Linked DNA regions of Homo sapiens: all the other regions are linked to region 1. The links are contacts of gene promoters, found by promoter capture Hi-C in human tissues and cell types (Jung and others, 2019). All regions are on one chromosome and are shown on one strand. The core of a region is centred on a gene start or on the middle of the fragment in contact, and the rest is flanking DNA. Distances in the headings are between cores, read along the strand shown. Region 1 holds the start of AKAP12 (A-kinase anchoring protein 12). Region 2 overlaps AKAP12 (A-kinase anchoring protein 12). Region 3 has its middle 61 kb from the start of AKAP12.

Region 1 (2,700 bases), core at 35-2,534:
TACCAAACCCGCTCGCTCCAGGCACCGCTGGCATCCAGGGCGGTACGCGACGGGGAACCCGAGGGTGGCTGGGCTCCCCGGCGGGCTCCACCACGAGTCCTGGCCTCACAGCTGACTTTCCGCATCTCGGAGCTCCGGAGGCCCGGCCCGGGGTCCATTCTCCACGGATCCCCCTCCGCGCAGCTCCTCCGCCTCGGGCTGCATGGCTCCCACCGGAAGAGTGCGCAGAAAGGCTCAGCCGCCGTGGGCAGGGCGCGGGTTTTATTATTGCGCATGGCGCAGTCGCCTCCCCTGGAGACCCGCGACAAAGATGCAAGCCCCCCGCCGCGCTCGCCGCTGCTCTGGCCCCGCCCCGGCGCGAAAGACCCTGAAAAGCCTCCAAAGAGGGGTTCGCACTCCTGAGTTTGCAGATGCGGCTGGATGGGCTGGGAAGTTCTCTCGGCGGAAATCGGAGGGACCCCCCCACCCCCACCCCCACCCCCAAAGACCCGCGCCTCCCGGCGCAGGTGGCCCGGCACGCCCGTACCTTGGTGGCGGGGTCCGAGGCAGCGATGGCGGGGTCCGCGGTGGTGTCTGGCGCCGCCTCGGCCGAGGGGCCGCCGCCGCTGGGCTCGGGCTCAGCCGGCGTGGAGCTCCCCTCGGGCGGCTGCTCCGGGCTGCGCTGCTCGGTGGAGCTCCCGGCGCCCATGGCTCCTCCGCACTTCTCCCGCGCCTAGCCGCCGGGTTACGCCTTCCCCAAGCCGCAGGGACAGGGGCAAGAGCCAAAAGACGCGCGCCCGCGAGGTCCCGAGAGCGCCTTCCTTCGCCGCCAGCCGACTGCGAACGCGCCCAGCCTGCGAATGAAGGAGACGCGCTCGCGGCAAACTCCTTAAAAGAAAAGGAAAAAAAAAAAAAGGCCACCTCTTAGCCTCCGCCCCCCTCCCCCCGGTTTTTCCCTCGCTTCATCACATGAGCACAGCCCCAGACACGCCCTGCAGCAGCATCTGCCCCCAGGCTGCCGGGACCAGAGGCGCTGCGACGCGCCAGCCCAGGTCCAGGCAGCCGCCCACCCGGCCCTCGGGCGCCTCCCGTTTCTAACAGGGCGACTAGAGCTGCGGGGACGACCCAGGGCCTCAGAAGGCAAGAGAGCAGGGGAGCAAAAAGCCTGCCGGGGACACTGGATTCTCTGGGGTTTATTAAATGATGGATCACCCAAGGCAGGAGCTTCTGCTGCAGCCGACTTTCAGCTCGCCCAGGAGCGAGTCCGAGTCCCCATTTGCTTTCCTGCAGATTGTGTTTAACTCCAAACATTTGTTCCAGCCTCCTCCCCATTAGCAGGAGAAAGGCAAGCGCTCCCTGGCTCCTCCTGAGTCCGACCATATTTGGGCACCTCACGTGGCAAGAGCAGGGAACCGAGAGGTTAACGCAGTCAGGCCACGGATGAGGTGGGCCACGCAGGCCCACGCTCTCCTATCCTCCGGAACAAGTGATGTCAGGCGATGCCATCAGCAGTGCTAGCCGCCCCCCTTCCCCCGGGGAACGGGGGGAAATGAGGCTGTTACCGGAAATGTGCCCGTCCTTCTTTGAGGGCCTGTGCTGGAAGTTACCCATCCAGGCCACCTCTGCTCCGCGCGATGCCGACACATGACAGCATAGATCTGTTCCTTTGCCGTCAGCCTTTCTCAAAAGATGAAGACTTTAAATAATACCAGCACAAGTGGCTTGCATCCTTTCATTTCCGACCCTTGAATATAATATGTATTACATGAGCATGGCAGCCAATCAATAAGTATTTGAACTAAATTAAATTTGTAGCTGGATTGCTTGGCGCAAAGCATTAAGGCTTTGGGGCTGAAAGACAAAATTTATTCCAGTTGTAACTAGCAACCGAGTGCCCCAGTTTTCACAAATACTTTGAATCTCCATTAAGAATGAAGAAACCAGCCTGGTTAACATAGCGAGACCTTGTCTCTACAAAAAATAAAAAAATTAGCCAGGCGCAGTGGTGCACCTGTAGTCCTAGCTACTCAGGAGGCTGGGGACGCTGGGGTAGAAGGATGACTTCAGCCCAGGAATTCGAGGCTGCAGTGAGCTATGACTGTGCCTCTGCACTCCATCCTAGTCGACAGAGCAAGATTCTGTCAAAAAAAAAAAAGAAAGAAAGAAGGAAGAAACTTTCGGAATATTCACACCAAATTCCAGATAAATATCTCATACTCAGATTTAGTACAATTTTGTAGAAAGGGTGTAAGCAGTAGTTCAGCACTAGGATGTTTCATGCCTAATGAATTGCATGAATCGAATGGTACCCTGGGAACCATAGGTTAGTTACTCACCATCAAATTTGTTTTCTGAATTAATTTTTTTTCTTTTTCTTTTTTTGAGACAAGGTCTCGCTGTGTTGCCCAGGCTAGTGTTGAACTCCTGAGCTCAAGCGATCCTCCTGCCTTGGCCTCTCAAAGTGCTGGGATTATAGGTGTGAACCACCACACTGGGCCTGTTTTCTGAATTAATTATTTTTATTTAAAGGACTACACGAAGGCCAATTTCTCTGGAGTTTATCTCTTAAGAAACAGTATATTTGCAAAATGCTTAGTTTTAGGAATTTATACACATTTCCCCCATTTTGACTTAAATTTTGACTATTTAGGAAACATTAGAATTCTTACTCTGTACCAGGCACTGTTCAATGCACTTTACATAATAATCTTTACAATAACC
Region 2 (2,700 bases), core at 161-2,660, 63 kb before region 1:
AATGACACCGGGACTCAAAGCAATTCTGGTGGGGTGGGGTTGTCTTGCCCCAGGTCACACAGCTCAGGAATGGGGGCATCATGGCCCGAAGCCAACTCTTGCCACCAACTATTTCCAGCGTTTTTCTGTTTGAGGCTCTCAACATAAAGATAGGTGCCATGTTTTGAAGGTCCTGTTACTACACACAATTATAAAGATAGGTGCCATGTTTTGAAGGTCCTGTTACTACACACAATTACAAAGATACGTGCCATGCTTTGAAGGTCCTGTTACTACACACAATTATAAAATGACTTAAAGGGTATTCCAGGTCTGGAACCGGTCTGGAAAAGGTCTGGTACAGACCTGCATGCTACAAAGCAATCTCAACTCTGCACTCCATCTGACATCATTCCATCCTGCTTCCAGGCCAATGAATGACTCTGGACTCACCACTGACTTAGACCCTGAACGCTGAAGGGACAGTGGGTTCAAGACACGCAATCCAGAAGCCTTAAGTTGTGCTAAATTGATTTCACCTGGCTGTTCTCGGCTCCCAGCAAGGCTGTCCTTCAACTGCATGAGCTTCCTCCTGAAATAATACCACTGTAGTTTAATACTTACACTACAGATGGGATTGTTGGCTTCAAAATGCCCATGCTGAGTCCATTTATTAAACAGAATACTCAGATTACATTTCCACTTAAAGTCTTCTCTTACCAAAATATGAAAGATGGGCATTTTAAATGAAACCTAAAGACAAAAGCAGGGGGTAGGGAATGGAGAAGGGGGCAGTGTGTCTCCACAAAGCCCATCTGCAAAAATGTCAGAGTATTTCTTTTTTTTATTTTTATTTTTGAGATGGATTTTCGCTCTTGTCCCCCAGGTAGTCCAATGGCATGATCTTGGCTCACTGCAACATCCGCCTTTTGGGTTCAAGTGATTCTTCTGCCTCAGCCTCCCGAGTAGCTGGGATTACAGGTGCCTGCCACTGCGCCCAGCTAATTTTTGTATTTTTAGTAGAGACGGGATTTCGTGTTGGCCAGGCTGGTCTCCAACTCCTGATCTCAGCTGATCCGCCCGCCTCAGCCTCCCAAAGTGCTGGGATTACAGGCATGAGCCACTGCGCCCAGCCAAATGTCAGAGTATTCTAACTAAATATCATTGAGTATGTACACAGGACTTAGATTTGATTAGTAACAGGAAGAAAAGTTGGGGGAGGAAAGCAGGAATCACATATTATCGTGGGCTACATGGTAACCCAGTGAATCTTAAACCTAGAAACTGTTGACATACACAGTTTCATGATATGGCAAACTAAACAGGGAACATAAAAAAGCCATCTTAATACCTCAATTTCAATGCAATAAACTTCGGTCAATTGTGCCTCTTATTTAGGAACCAGAACTCTGAAGTTCTATAGAGTTTAGGGTTCTACCAAGTACCTAAAATTATTGAAAAAATTCTTATAATCCTCTGTGAATTGCCCAATCCAAGGTATCTTTAGTTGGAGCCAAACTGAGTCTCTTTAAACATGAAGACTATAGCACACAGGCACAAATTTCCGTCTACTCTTTTAGAAATGTTACTGAGCCGGGCACTGTGACGTGCGCTGTAGTCCCAGCACTTAGGAGACTGAGGCAGGAGGATTGCTTGAGCCCAAAAGTTTGAGGCCAGCCTGGACAACATAGAGAGACCCTCGTCTCCAAATAAAAACATCATTTAAAAAAGAGATGTTACACCAGGCGCAGTGGCTCATGCCTTTAATCCCAGCACTTTGGGAGGCCGAGGCAGGCAGATCATGAGGGCAGGAGATCGAGACCATCCTGGCTAACATGGTGAAACCCCGTCTCTACTAAAAATGCAAAAAATTAGCCAAGTGTGGTGGTGTGCGCCTATAATCCCAGCTACTAGGGAAGCTGAGGCAGGAGAATCACTTGAACCTGGGAGGCGGAGGTTGCAGCGAGCTGAGATCACGCACTCCAGCCTGGGCAACAGAGGGAGACTCCGTCTCTTAAAAAAAAAAAAAGAAAAAAAAAAGAGATGTTACACACACATAGCAAAGTACATTAGATGATAAAAAGAAGGACCCTTAAAAACTGAGGTCAAATGCTACACATCCTTACATCCTAAGTATGATAATGAATACATTATGAGATACTAATTTTCAGTAACCACAGGGTAACTGTCCCTACTTGAGAAAGGCCGTAGATACATTATTAACTTCGGTAGAAAACGATTTATGACAGTGACGTTACTGAACCTGAGTTTTGAGTCTATTTTACTATGTGAATAGCTTGCGTCCCGCCAGGGTACCCAAGCTTTGACCTCAAGGGTGATGTCTCAGGTGAGCTTTCAGAGCCTATGAGGCACCAACATCCGCACAAAATGGGACTTCATTCCTAGTCAGATTGTCACATTCAGACATGTCCACACTTTTGCAAATCCCACGTGTTGTTAAAGATGGATAATTCCCTTTATTTCACTCCAAATCAAAAGTGTTTTTGTTTTTTCTTCCATCCCCAAACCGTCTAAATAAGTCATACCGTTGTTAAAAATTCACGGACTTCTGAGAGTTATCAATAAGTTAAAGTCACCTCAAATAGAGGAAATCAAACCTACATTCATTTAAGTCTTTTCTGTGTTTTCTACGTGTGTATATATACAGGCACAAGCATTCACTTAAAAAATAATGGGGAACACGTGTTATTTTATGACCTG
Region 3 (2,946 bases), core at 415-2,914, 61 kb after region 1:
TTGAACCCGGGAGGCAGAGGTTAAAGTGAGCCGATATTGCGCCACTTCACTCCAGCTTGGGTGACAGAGTGAGACTCCGGCTCAAAAAAAAAAAAAAAAACGAGAGAGAGAGAGAGAAATAATACAAAGGAAGGTGGTCCCTTGCCAGCACTTGTCTTGCCTACTTGAGTTTTCTCTTCCATTCAGCTCATGTTATTCCACTCATTCTAGACTTTCTTTCTTTGCTTTTTCTCTCCTCTGCCATAACACTCGAATAACATTCCTCCCAGCATCAACTCCCCTTCTCCTGCCAATAGCACCTCACTTTTCCTTTTGGAAAACCACCCTTTTGGAACTCTTAATTCTTGCAGTTTGGATGGGGCTGAGGCTACATTCTTCTGCCCCTATCCACTCCAGGGGTGGGAACATGACCCAGGTCTGCAGAATCAGAGGCACAGGGAGTCAGGTAGGTTGAGGGTTTCTCTGCAGCCCTAAGGAAGAAGGTATTTTCCACCTGGGTTGCTGAGCTGATAGGATGTACATCCACAGCTGCCAGACACCACTCCTTGCCTTATGAAAATGCAATGAACTCAGGAAAGCAGAGCTGAGACCGCATCCTAATGACATCATTTGGTCTCCATCCAGCCTTCCCTGAGCTTACTTCTTGCCTTTTTAATTACATGATTCAACCACCAACCTCCTCCCCACCCACTTTTTTTTTGTTTTTCCAAACAGGGTTGATTTTCCATAACTTGTAGTTAGGAGTCATGACTTGCATACCAAATCGGATTCATTTCTTAACACCCCACTCATACTTCATCTCCCTCATCAAACCTTTAATCATTTACTGCAGCACACAAATTTTATCAGCTCTGAATCTACAAAGAACTTAATGTCTGTGCTACATGGTTTTATTTAATTAAATAAATAAATAAACAAACAAATAAATAAATAAATTTTTGAGACAGGGTCTCACCCTGTCATCCAGGCTGGAGTGCAGTGGCATGATCACGGCTCACTGCAGCCTCGACCTCCTGGGCTCAGGTGATCCTCCCAGCTCAGCCTCCCTGGGACTAAGGCTACACAGTTTTAGAAATTATTCTGCACATGCTGACCGTGAAGCACTTCAGGAAATTGTGAATTGATGAGTCCTGGGTATTAGTTTTCTTCCTTTGTTTCCCCCAGTCACACTGCATCACACAGGCCAACTCAAAACCCCGCGAGCTTTTTCCTGGTCTCTCATGGGTTGATCTCACTGGGTTCTCACAGCCACCCTGGGGAAGGTTAAGTCACTTGCTGAATGAAGGTCACCTGGTAGGATTTGGGGGAGGTGGCGAGTGCTTATAGAACTGTACCTTTTTAATAGTTAGGATTAAACTTGCTTACAATGACAAAAACCCAAAATAACAATGGCTTAAGTTAGATTGAAGTTTACTTCTCTTTCACATAAAAGAATGGAGGTGGGCAGTCCAGGGTAGGAGCTGCACCCCTCAGAGTCAGATCCCCGGGATTCTCCCATGGGTAGTTCTGCCACGAGCGACTTCCACTTCCAAACTCACCTCCTGATTCAAGATGGCTGCCAAGGCTCTAACAGGCAGGGAAGAGGAATGGATTGTCCTTTTCCTTTAAGACTCCCTGTCAGAAACTGCACTTGTCCTTTCTGCTTGCATCCCACTAGACAGAATTTACTTACATGAAACTGCCATAAAGGATTCCATAAGTACAGTCTCTGTTCCACATGGCTACAGTCTTATCTAGTGGAAGGAGGCAGGAGGGTTGTCTTACTGAAGAAGGGAAATGGGCATTGGGGCATCACTAGAAGCTTCTGGTCCTGGTTGCTCAGCCCAATTCCACCCATAGGTTGTTTATTGTTTCATATTTGTGTTCTCTCTCCCAATAGTCTGTGAATTCCTGGCAAGCAAAGGTGGTAGGCAGTTCTCTCTTGCGTTTTCAGCTCCTTGGATTGTGCTTTTTACATTGTATGTTTTTCCTTTTCTTTGGGACTGAGTCTTGCTCTGTCGCCCAGGCTGGAGTGCAATGGCATGATCTTGGCTCACTGCAATCTCCACCTCCCTGGTTCAAGTGATTCTCATGCCTCAGCCTACCGAGTAGCTGGGATTACAGGCGCCTGCCACCATGCCTGACTAATTTTTGTATTTTCAGGTAGAGACAGGGTTTCACCATGTTGGCCAGGCTGGTCTCGAACTCTTGACCTCAGGTGATCCACCTGCCTCGGCCTCCCAGAGTGCTGGGATTATAGGCGTGAGCCGCTGTGCCCAGACTACATTGTATTTTGATGATAATAAATCTATAGGTGTTAAGGAGAGAAGTTGTAAAAGGAAATCAAAAGCTACATGTTACACAGCTTAATTATCCCCCAAAAATACCACCAGTATGAAGCTGGGCTCATGGTCTTGCATTGCTAATTTTTTTCTTGAGATTGGTTCTTGCTATGTTGCCCAGGCTGGACTCAAACTCCTAGGATTAAGGGATCCTCCCACCTCAGCCTCTTTAGTAGCTGGGACTACAGGCGTGCACCACTTCCCCCTTGCTCAGGCTTTGAAATCAGATGATTCAGTTCTAGAATCCTGGCTTTACATCTTAAGAGCTGACTGGTCCTGGAAAAGTGAGTAAAAGCTCTCTGAGATTTGCTTTCTTTATCTGCTAAGATAGGGATAATGGTATCTTCCTTGCATTGTGAGAATTCCAAAGATGATTTATGTAAAATGCTCAGCACATTACAGGTTTCATTTATTCCTTTCTTTGGTCTTCAGTCTGTGATAATGGACTGGGGTTGGTCTATGCCAGGCTGTGTGTCTAATTTAGCAGATCAGAATTACTCAAAGGCATCAGAAATGTGTCTTCTCCTTCTCTGACTTGTACACTTAAGACTTAATCTTTGTCCATCTAAAGCAAAACAAAAAATGATGCCAAATATAATTACAATGTTAATGTAAGAAATATCTA

The links. Contacts are between HindIII fragments. The study calls those that stand out against the background at their distance.
Region 2: a contact is called between a fragment that was not itself captured here and the fragment with the promoter of AKAP12 in region 1, in 1 of the 25 tissues and cell types used here (mesenchymal stem cells).
Region 3: a fragment that was not itself captured here is called in contact with the fragment with the promoter of AKAP12 in region 1 in 2 of the 25 tissues and cell types used here (aorta and mesenchymal stem cells).

The regions. Positions count from the first base shown.
Region 1 is chr6:151,238,551-151,241,250 of GRCh38, reverse strand. It overlaps AKAP12 (A-kinase anchoring protein 12), which reads right to left and starts at 1,284. Exons shown (of 5, transcript NM_005100.4): 1 at 1,192-1,284; 2 at 527-867. The coding sequence starts at 688. RefSeq lists enhancers at 317-894, 972-1,481. The HindIII fragment of the contact is 7,486 bases long and covers 1-2,700 here.
Region 2 is chr6:151,301,328-151,304,027 of GRCh38, reverse strand. The region is part of intron 2 of AKAP12 (A-kinase anchoring protein 12); the gene reads right to left. Among named protein-coding and RNA genes, the nearest start is that of AKAP12, 63 kb to the right of the region's middle. The HindIII fragment of the contact is 3,419 bases long and covers 1-2,700 here.
Region 3 is chr6:151,177,189-151,180,134 of GRCh38, reverse strand. No RefSeq gene overlaps it. Among named protein-coding and RNA genes, the nearest start is that of AKAP12, 61 kb to the left of the region's middle. The HindIII fragment of the contact is 8,350 bases long and covers 1-2,946 here.